Linked DNA regions of Homo sapiens: region 2 is linked to region 1. The links are contacts of gene promoters, found by promoter capture Hi-C in blood cells and fetal thymus (Javierre and others, 2016). All regions are on one chromosome and are shown on one strand. The core of a region is centred on a gene start or on the middle of the fragment in contact, and the rest is flanking DNA. Distances in the headings are between cores, read along the strand shown. Region 1 holds the start of RAMP3 (receptor activity modifying protein 3). Region 2 has its middle 280 kb from the start of SNORD151.

Region 1 (4,396 bases), core at 1,237-3,736:
CACTGCAATCTCCGCCTTCCAGGTTCAAGCGATTCCTCTGCCTCAGCCTCCTGAGTAGCTGAGACTACAGGTATGCACCACCACACCCGGCTAATATTTTGTATTTTTAGTAGAGACGGAGTTTCACCATGTTGGCCAGGATGGTCTCGATCTCCTGACCTCGAGATCTGCCCGCCTTGGCCTCCCAAAGTGCTGGGATTACAGGCGTGAGCCACCGCACCCGGCCGGCCACCTCCAAGTCTTTAATTCACCAGAGTTACTGCTATCCAACCATGGCCCTTGGGCCCACTTGATTCAGTAGAATCAATATGACCACAGGTAACATGGCAGCAGGACATCATTTAATGATAAAAACGATGGTACCATGTTCATACGCTTGCACACACAGGCACACACACTATGGTGCTCCATCTTTGGGTGCTGTGAGTGAGCCTCATGAGGCCCAGTGCAGTCACTGGTGGGTGCCTTCCCATACCTCCCCTTGTTTAAGCATGAACCCTTCCACCCCACAATCCCATGCCCAACACAAGGTGATAGGGACTAAACTGAATGGAATCAAACTGACGGTCTCAGCAGCCCTTTACAGATTGCTATTATTACATCTACATTGCAGCTCGGAAACTGAGGCCAGTGAGTGCTTTATAATCTTGGGATCATGATCAGGATTTTCACCCAGACCAGAAGAGTCCAGTCAAGAGCTGGGCACCACAGCAAAGTGTCCTGCTGAGTAGACAACTGCTGGACTTCGCATCCCCACAGCCCCACACAGCATCAAATGCTTTCTGGAAAAAGGTCTGGAATTCTCAAAGAAGCCCCAGAGGCCTGCACCCTCCCTGCTGGTCCTCCTGAGCTAGTCCTCAGTCAAGAGGAACCCACCCAGCTCCTTCCTTCCAGACACAGCAGCATCCAGGGCAGATGTGGGTTCCAGTCCCGGATACCTCTGACACATCGGCCTGGGACCATGAGCAAGTTTTACCTCTCCCTGAATCTCACTCTGGCCAGTCGAACACTGGGAGGGTCTGCTGAGAAGCTGGACCTGGTCCCTATTCTGGCCAGGGAGCGTGAACCCATGTCCCATTGGAGGGGGACAGTCAGGACCAACACAACAGGACAAAGAAGTGGCCCTCAGGAACTGGGTCCACGAGAGACAGGATTATTAAGGGGGGATTCTGTGCAGGCGGAAGCCTGTGGTCCTTCTCAATTTGATACTGGAGATGATCAGGAAAGCCTCAGCTTCTCCCAGAATGAATTGAGAGGACCTTCCTTCCACTATAGCGACCAAGATCTCCACCTAAGGGGCGCTCACTGGAAGTTTGCTGAAATCCCAAATCAGCATGCTCCTGATTTCAGAAGCTGCCATCCACCTTTGCACTTCAACACAAAATCCACCACATCCTAGGCTCCAGCCCTGGAACACCAAATGAAGCCACACAAGTTCTGCACACCAAGACCTCTTCAATGGAAGGAAAATGACCACTGAGTTTGGTCCACCCTTTTCCCACCTCCCGTACCAAATCCCAAATCATCAAAACAGGCCCAACTCTGCATCTTACAGCCAGGGAAACTGGGGACCACCAGGCCAGGGCCCTCCATCACCAATGTCCCCCCCAGAACTGGCCAGGCTCAGTCACCACTCAGTGGACCCCAGCCCTCAGCAAGCACTCTTCCCCAACAGCCTTTACACACATTCTCTCTCTCTCTCTCTCTCTTACTTTTTCTTGGATAATTTCTTTAGCAAGGTACTTCAAAACAAGCTTTTAGTTTAATCTATTTCCATTTTGTGAGCAATGGTTCTTCCTAGAGTCCTGATTTCTTGCCGAAGAAGGCATTAGGAGAGGATGGCTCAGAGAGTCGCCCCGCTTCCCCTCTCAGCCAGTTCCAGGACACACACAGGCGTCCACACACTGAGGGGCCCTGGGAGGACCAGCTACCCAGTCCGGAGTCCACCCGCCCACGCCCCTGTGAGTGGTGGGCAGGCACTCAATGCCAGGACAGAGAGCTCACTACCTTACAGACAGCCCACCCTGGGGGATAAGGGGTAAAGAGCCAGACCTGGTCCACCTCTTCTCGCCCACCCTGAGGCGACCCCAGAACCGGGGCGTGGGGGGACATCACAACTAGAAGGACCGGGGGCTGCCGGACCCTGCCGTCAGAAGACCCCGGAGGGGGCCCTGTGCCTCCCTTGCCCGCCAGAGTCCTTCGCCTTCAGCTTCTCCCGGGTGGAACCCTCCCGCAGAGCCTGGGAATCCCGCCAGGGTCACTGTGCGCCCCTCCCGAGCTCCGGGGCAAGGGAAGGACCGCGGCGCAGGTGCGGGAAGGCGCGGGTCCACCCGGGTCCGGTGAACCCCGAGGAGTGGGGGCGCCCCCGGTGCGGGCCGTCGCCCCCTTACCGCAGAGCAGCAGCAGCAACGGGAGAAGTTGCGGGCGCCGCAGCGCTCCAGTCTCCATGGCTGGCCGGCCGCAGCTGGGTCACGCTCGGTCCCGCTGGGGGCGCGGCTGGGGGACGCCCGGTTGGGGTTGGGGTGGGGCGGGGCCTCAGGGGGTCCGCCCTCAGGCCGCACCCCCAGACCACGCCTGCGGCCGTGCCCCGTTGCCTCCAGATGTGGGGTGCAGTCCCTGCAGGCGCGCCGGGTGGGAGGGATGGGGGCGGCTGGAGTCTCAGCGGGGTGAGAGGGGGGCGAGGGCAGGGTTTCGAGCTGGGGACAAGCTGGGGTAAGGTGGGGTGCCGGCTGATGGGCTCTGAGGGCGGGGCTGGGGTGCTGAGCTGCAAAGGAGCTTTTTGGGAGCAGATTGTAGGGGCAGACTGGGAGGTGAGCTGGGGTGAGCGTGGGGGCCGGCTGACGGTGGGCTGGGATGCAGGCTGGAGAGACTTGGGGAACTTCCGTCCAGGCTCAGGGGCAGAGGGTGGGGGTAGACCGGGGAGGGAGCTGAGGTGAGGATGAAGCGCTGGCTGATGATGGCCTAGAGGAGTCTGGGGGTAGACTGGAGGAAGGTGGACCTGGGAGTGGGCTAGGTGTGCCCTGGCCGAAAGTAGACCAGAGTCCAGAGCTGCCCCCAGGCAGGGAGGGGAACTTTGAGCAGAGATACATCTAGGAGCCAGGTCTCCAAAGGTCAGGAAAGTGCATAAAAGAGGTTGGGGGGTGTGTGTGTGTGCGTCTGTGTGTGTGCGTGTGTGTGTTGTTCATGGAGTACGTGTGTGTGATGTGCATGTGGGGTGTGTGTAGATGCATGTGTGTGCATGGAGTGTGTGATGTATGGTGTGTGTGTGGCATGTGTGTGTTTGAGTCTGAGACAAGGTGTGTTTGTGAGTGTATGCTTGGGAAACAGTGTGTATGAGAGAGACTGGAGGGTGTGGCAACTACACACACAGAGACGTATCACACACCAAGAACCAAGCCACAAGCAAACCAAGGGACAGGAGAGTATCTGGCACCACCAAAGACCTGGCCTTGAAGAGTGTCAGGGTCCCTGAGGCGAAGGAGGGCCTCAGTTTCTCCAGCCACAGGTCACTTGGCCAGATGGGTCACCTCTGTCACCCTCAGCCCCTAGCACAGGCCCTGGCTCCAGTGGACACTTAATGGTGTCTTAAGAATTGTCACTGGTCAGGACTTCCGAGAGCCAGCTAGAGGCACCTCTCTGCCCTCCAGGGCCCACCCACCACCCCTGGGGGCACATGCTGGTCTGAGGTTGGGGCACAGGCCCAGGCTCCTACATGGATGGGCCCTCCACTCCTCTGAGCCGTAGGTACTGCTACCTTCCCAGGAGCTGAGCTGAACTTCTCCTGGCTTAGAAAGACCCACTTTATTTAACAAGACCCTTATTCGGGAGAAGAACTTTCTGTGCTTTTTTACTGAAGAAATTCTGATTACAGCCAGAATTAATTCAAAGGAGTCAAAACTAATTAAAATTGATCATTTGTCCTGCCTTCTGCCTGAGGGGTGGGCAGCAGGTGTAGGGGTGGCCACAGAGCCTCTAGTGAGACTGATGGTGCCCACAGCCAGGCCTTCTGCCCACAGGCCAGGGGTCATAAAACAAGCTGACCAGGGCAGCAGGGGGCTGGCTTACACACACGCACACCCTACACCAGCCAAGACAAACCAAGAGGATGGTCCAGGCCCAGGTGTCCACCCACATCCCACACAGACTCGGCCCTACAGCTCTCTCCAGGAGAGTCTTAGTCTCCACTCGGTCCCACAGCCCCAAAGGCGGTTGCACATAGCTTGCAGGCTGGAACAGTAGGATGGGGTTGTCAGGTGGGAGGGGGGCAGCCAGTTCCCCCAAGCCTGCACCAGGGAGCAATGCTCCCTTTCCTGGACTCCCCACCCTGGCTCTGCAGTGGGGAAGCCCTGGCCATTCTACAGAGTTGGGTTCCAACACCTCTCCTCCATGGAACCAA
Region 2 (4,396 bases), core at 544-3,043, 2.0 Mb before region 1:
TATTAATTGTACTCCCGAGGGAGTGCTGGCTGTTGCCTTCCCTCCTTGGTTTCCAGTGGGCAGAGAGCCATTCTGCACAGCTGGCCGTCTCCCAAGCACATGGGCACTTGTCTCTTTTGGGTGGAATGACTGTGTTGTAGAGTCTGTATATGCTCTGTTCTGTTAAATTTTGTCAAATTGATTTTCCAGGTGGTTGGGCCACGTTACCTTCCAGTTGGAAGTGTAGGGGGGTTTCCACTGCTCCACATCCTCACCAATGCTTGGTTTCTTATTTTTTATATTTTGCCAGTTTGATGGTTCAAAGGGGCACTGGATCGTGGTTCTAGTTTACATTTCTCTGGTACTGACGAGCCCCTTGGGGATAACTGGAGAGACGCTGAGTGACAGCGGTGGTCAGAACTGGATTCTGTAGGACGGGGTGGGGAGGAGTAGAAGGCTGCAGTGGCGGGGGGTGGGGCAGACGTGGGTCTGGCGCACATTCTTTCTGCTTTTTTCTCATTTGTATTGGTTCCAAGTTCAGTCTCAGAAGAATCACATCAATTCTGACTTGTAATTCTAGAGATCTCTATTTTCCAGAAATTTTCTATGAGAATCTTTGAAGCTTGAGGGCTGTGATTTTTCTCCAGGATGAAGGTTAAACCCTGTAAATGTGCAGAACGTTCTCCTAACAACCCATTCCAGTAAATGGTGCATGACAGGTGTGTAGGGCACTGTGGGTGAGGCTGAAGCATCACCCCAGATGCAGGGGTACATTCCTAGGAGCACAGACATGTGAACATGCTTCACCCTCCACATCTGACCCTGGGACTCACCCACTTCTCTCTACTCCCACTGCTCCCCTGGTCAGATGGCCCATTAGAAGGCTCAGGGAATGGTACCTTACTTTCATATAAAGCTGCCTTTACTGAATTTGCATATATTAATGATAGTATTCCAGCTTGACTGAAGCTGGGTGTGAGGTTTGTGTCTCATGGAATTGTTCTGGGAACTTCCCAGAAGGCATGTGAACTCTCTGACAACATTATAGGTACTCAATAAAGAGTAGCTAGTATCAATTTGCCATGTCTAATTGAACAAATACTATGACTAATTAACATGCTAAATGCAGGAGGTATGGTGATAAATAAAACAGTGCCTTGTCCCCTGAAGCTTACATTCTACTAGGGGAGACAGCTGCACACGTGAAACATATGAAGACATAAGGCAGTTTCAGATAGTGGCCCTTCCAACAGGGAGAGCCAGGTGGCAGAGTGAAAAGGAGAGGAGACAGAGCATTCCAGACAGAGGCAGAAATACCTGCAAATGCTCCCTGGTTATGAGCTCTGTGTGTTCTGGCAACAAGAGAAGTCAGGCAACTGCAGTGATGGTGAAGGTTAAAGGTCATAGAGATGTGAGGCTCCACCAATCCCAGGTGTGGGCCAAGGCACAGAGAGGGGAATGCTCTCTGTTTGTGTCTTATATCAGCATTTTGTGATAGGGTTCAAAGTTATACTCTCTGAGGGCTCCCACTTCCAGATCTAACAATACGGTAGATGCTGGGGAGGCTTAGGGTCTTCCTTGCTCCAACCCAGCCTGGGCAGGAAGAAACTTTTGATGCCTGCCATGGGGCAACATTAGCAGCCTCAGCTCACTCCAGCTCTTGTCCGGTATCTCTACTTGCATCCCATCAGTGGGACCCCAAACAGCTCTGGGGACCCCAGGGTGCAGGAACGATGCCCATCATCATGCTGGGCACCATGCTGTGCTATGGAGACCCTGTTGTCACAGAAGTAAACCATTGCCCAGTGGAGGAGGCCTACCCCTTTCCTCTTCCTGTACCATCACTCAGTGTCTGTGGTCCCCACCCCTGGCCTGGGGTTCCAGTGAGTCGTGGGTAATACTGGGCACACATTTATGAGTGTTTCTTACATGTGAATGCCATATGTGCCCCAGTGGAAAAAAAAATAAGGACTCATTTAAGTTTTTTATTATTTGGATCTTTTCCTGACACCTGAATGATGAGCATTGGAATGTTCTCACCAAATTTGTGTTATATAAGGACTACTTCTTGAATGTAAGATTTCAAAGGATGCTGAATTAGAACTTTGGCAATAGCAAAATACTTTTTTCCAAACCATCCCAAACTCTCCATGGATGGTGGCTTGTTTCCAATTTGGAATGGCTTCAGTTGAAGATGTTTTTTGCATTGGTCTTTGTGTTCACAGTCCCTGGTGAAGGGGCTGATAGGCTTAAAAGCAGCATTTGGGGAGAGAGAGAGACACACACAGAAGGAGAGAGGTAGGAGGGAGAGAGGCAGAGCGAGCAAGAGAGAGCTGTACTGTGTTCTTTCTCAGAAAGTACCTGGCAGGCTGGAAGCAGCTCATGTGCCAATATTTGAAAACTATAAATAGAGTCCTTTGGGATTGGCTTACATGAATTGGTAGGAATGCCAAGCTTGGGAAGCTGCTGGGGCATGGTGGGGGGAGAGCAGGGAACAGTGTGCTATTCCTAGGACAGGTAACGCCTCTCTTTAGTGTAGTGGGGAGGGCCCTAGGCGGACTGCAGAGAGGAGGAGCTGAGGTACAGGTGCACTGTCAGGTCAGACATGTGAGCAAGTTGGTGAGAAAATTCATTTGTTCAGCTTCATACTTGGGAAGCAGCTGTAGCATTCAGGGTGGGAATTCTCAGTCCTGCTGCAGCTGCAGCACTCAGGGAAGGACTCTGGGGCCGGGCTGGGACAGGGCTGAGCAGGGAGCTGGATTGAGGGAAGTTTGAAATCACGGATCTAGCTAACTCTTCTAATTTGATGATGGGGAGACTGAGGCTTGGCCCTTTGTTCTTTTTCCTGCACCACTGCCAATCTTTCATGGGGTAAAGACCAATTTTAATGCAGTTCACTGAGATTCTTCTGCCCATCTGTGGAGGAGGTTGGTTGGGGGGCCTGGACACAGGAAGACTGCCGTCCTCAGCTCCCCTAAAAGCCACTGCAGCACGGGATGCCTGGACTGGCTTCTCTCCAGCTTCATCTCAGAAGATAAAATGTCAAACTCAGAGCTATCCCACGCTTGTCAAAATGCGTCGCAAAGAAAACTCACGGAGACAAGCACCTAGGCATTTGCTAGTGTTCAATACTGTTCATTTGGTCCCAGCCTTAAGCCACATCATCAGAGTGCTCTGGGGACCACATGGCTTTCTTTTATTGCAGTACTTTTCCTGAATGCTCCTAAAATGTAATGTACATTGCAGGGACATTCTAAGACAGAGCCCTGTAAAATGCATGACTTTGCTCGCCATGAGGACATCGGTGAGGCTGTCCTTGACTACGCTACATCATGATCTCTGTATAAAGACCTCAGGGAGAAACCTCTGACCTCTCTTTGACTTGCTGTGTTTCTCCTTGGGCAGCCAGCTAACCTTTATACTGCAGACTCAGGAAATGGTGCCACTGATTCCGTGTCCCTTGATGCACTGGTTATACAATCTCACAGCCCAATATGCCCCCTCTTCTCTGCAAGTGCATGGTTATACCTACTTGTGGTCTTCATCCTTTTTTTTCCTTCCTGGCCATTGTGAGTCTGTCCATCTATGTGAGAGCTCTGGGTTCATCCTGAGCCATCCTGGTGAGGACGGAGAGTGTTTGGAGCTTAGGTCCCACCACCAACCTTCTTCCCTTTCTTTCTCTCTTTTTCTTCCTTGCGACCCTTCTAGCATCTCACTTCCTTCCTTGCCTAAGAATCTCATCCTCTAACTGCCTCTGACTCACTCTGGGATGATCAAGCATCTTTGGGATCTAATAGTCCAAGGTCCCAGTCCCAGTTCTATTGCTTATTACTTGGGTAACTCTGTATTTGTGGTTTAGCCTCGCTGAGCCTTAACTTTCTGCCAAATGAGGTAGACATAACCCTACTGAGGGCTAACACAGGGGAAAGCCGTAACCATGGCTGATCCATTATGGTTGCATCAGAAAAGCCAATTTCCTTGTCAATCAATGCCAAAAGCACTCCCTTCTGCATTAATCAGACCCCATCTGCCCTGCAATTTGTTTCTTAGAATTCAGAACAAAACAAAACGAAGCACAGAAGCCTCTGGCCATCCCCTTCATCCAGCAGATGGCAGTCTCTGATCAGGAATCTCTTGGCCTAGCTGCCATGGGAAACTGCTGCCCTATAGAGGATTTGTCCAAGAAAACCCAAATAAAGAAATATTATATATTATTTTCTACGAAGAACTTGTGTAATGAAGAGGAAACACTTTCTCCCAAGCAACTGATGTGGATTTCTCTTAGGTTTCTGCAAAATGCAGGTGATAACCCTTGAGGTCGCACGCTTTGTTTTCCGGGTGCATTGCCAGGTTACAGGGCACACCTATGCTCTAAGAGATCCACGACAGCTAGGAGATGGCTTTCCCTTGTTCTTCC

What was found. Contacts are between HindIII fragments. The CHiCAGO score rates a contact against its expected background, and 5 or more counts as called.
Region 2: a fragment that was not itself captured here is called in contact with the fragment with the promoter of RAMP3 in region 1 in 1 of 17 cell types (M1 macrophages); the score reaches 6.6 in M1 macrophages.

Annotation. Positions count from the first base shown.
Region 1 is chr7:45,155,881-45,160,276 of GRCh38, reverse strand. It overlaps RAMP3 (receptor activity modifying protein 3), which reads right to left and starts at 2,486. Exons shown (of 3, transcript NM_005856.3): 1 at 2,391-2,486. The coding sequence starts at 2,448. The HindIII fragment of the contact is 23,160 bases long and covers 1,757-4,396 here.
Region 2 is chr7:47,180,090-47,184,485 of GRCh38, reverse strand. No RefSeq gene overlaps it. Among named protein-coding and RNA genes, the nearest start is that of SNORD151, 280 kb to the left of the region's middle. The HindIII fragment of the contact is 1,284 bases long and covers 1,152-2,435 here.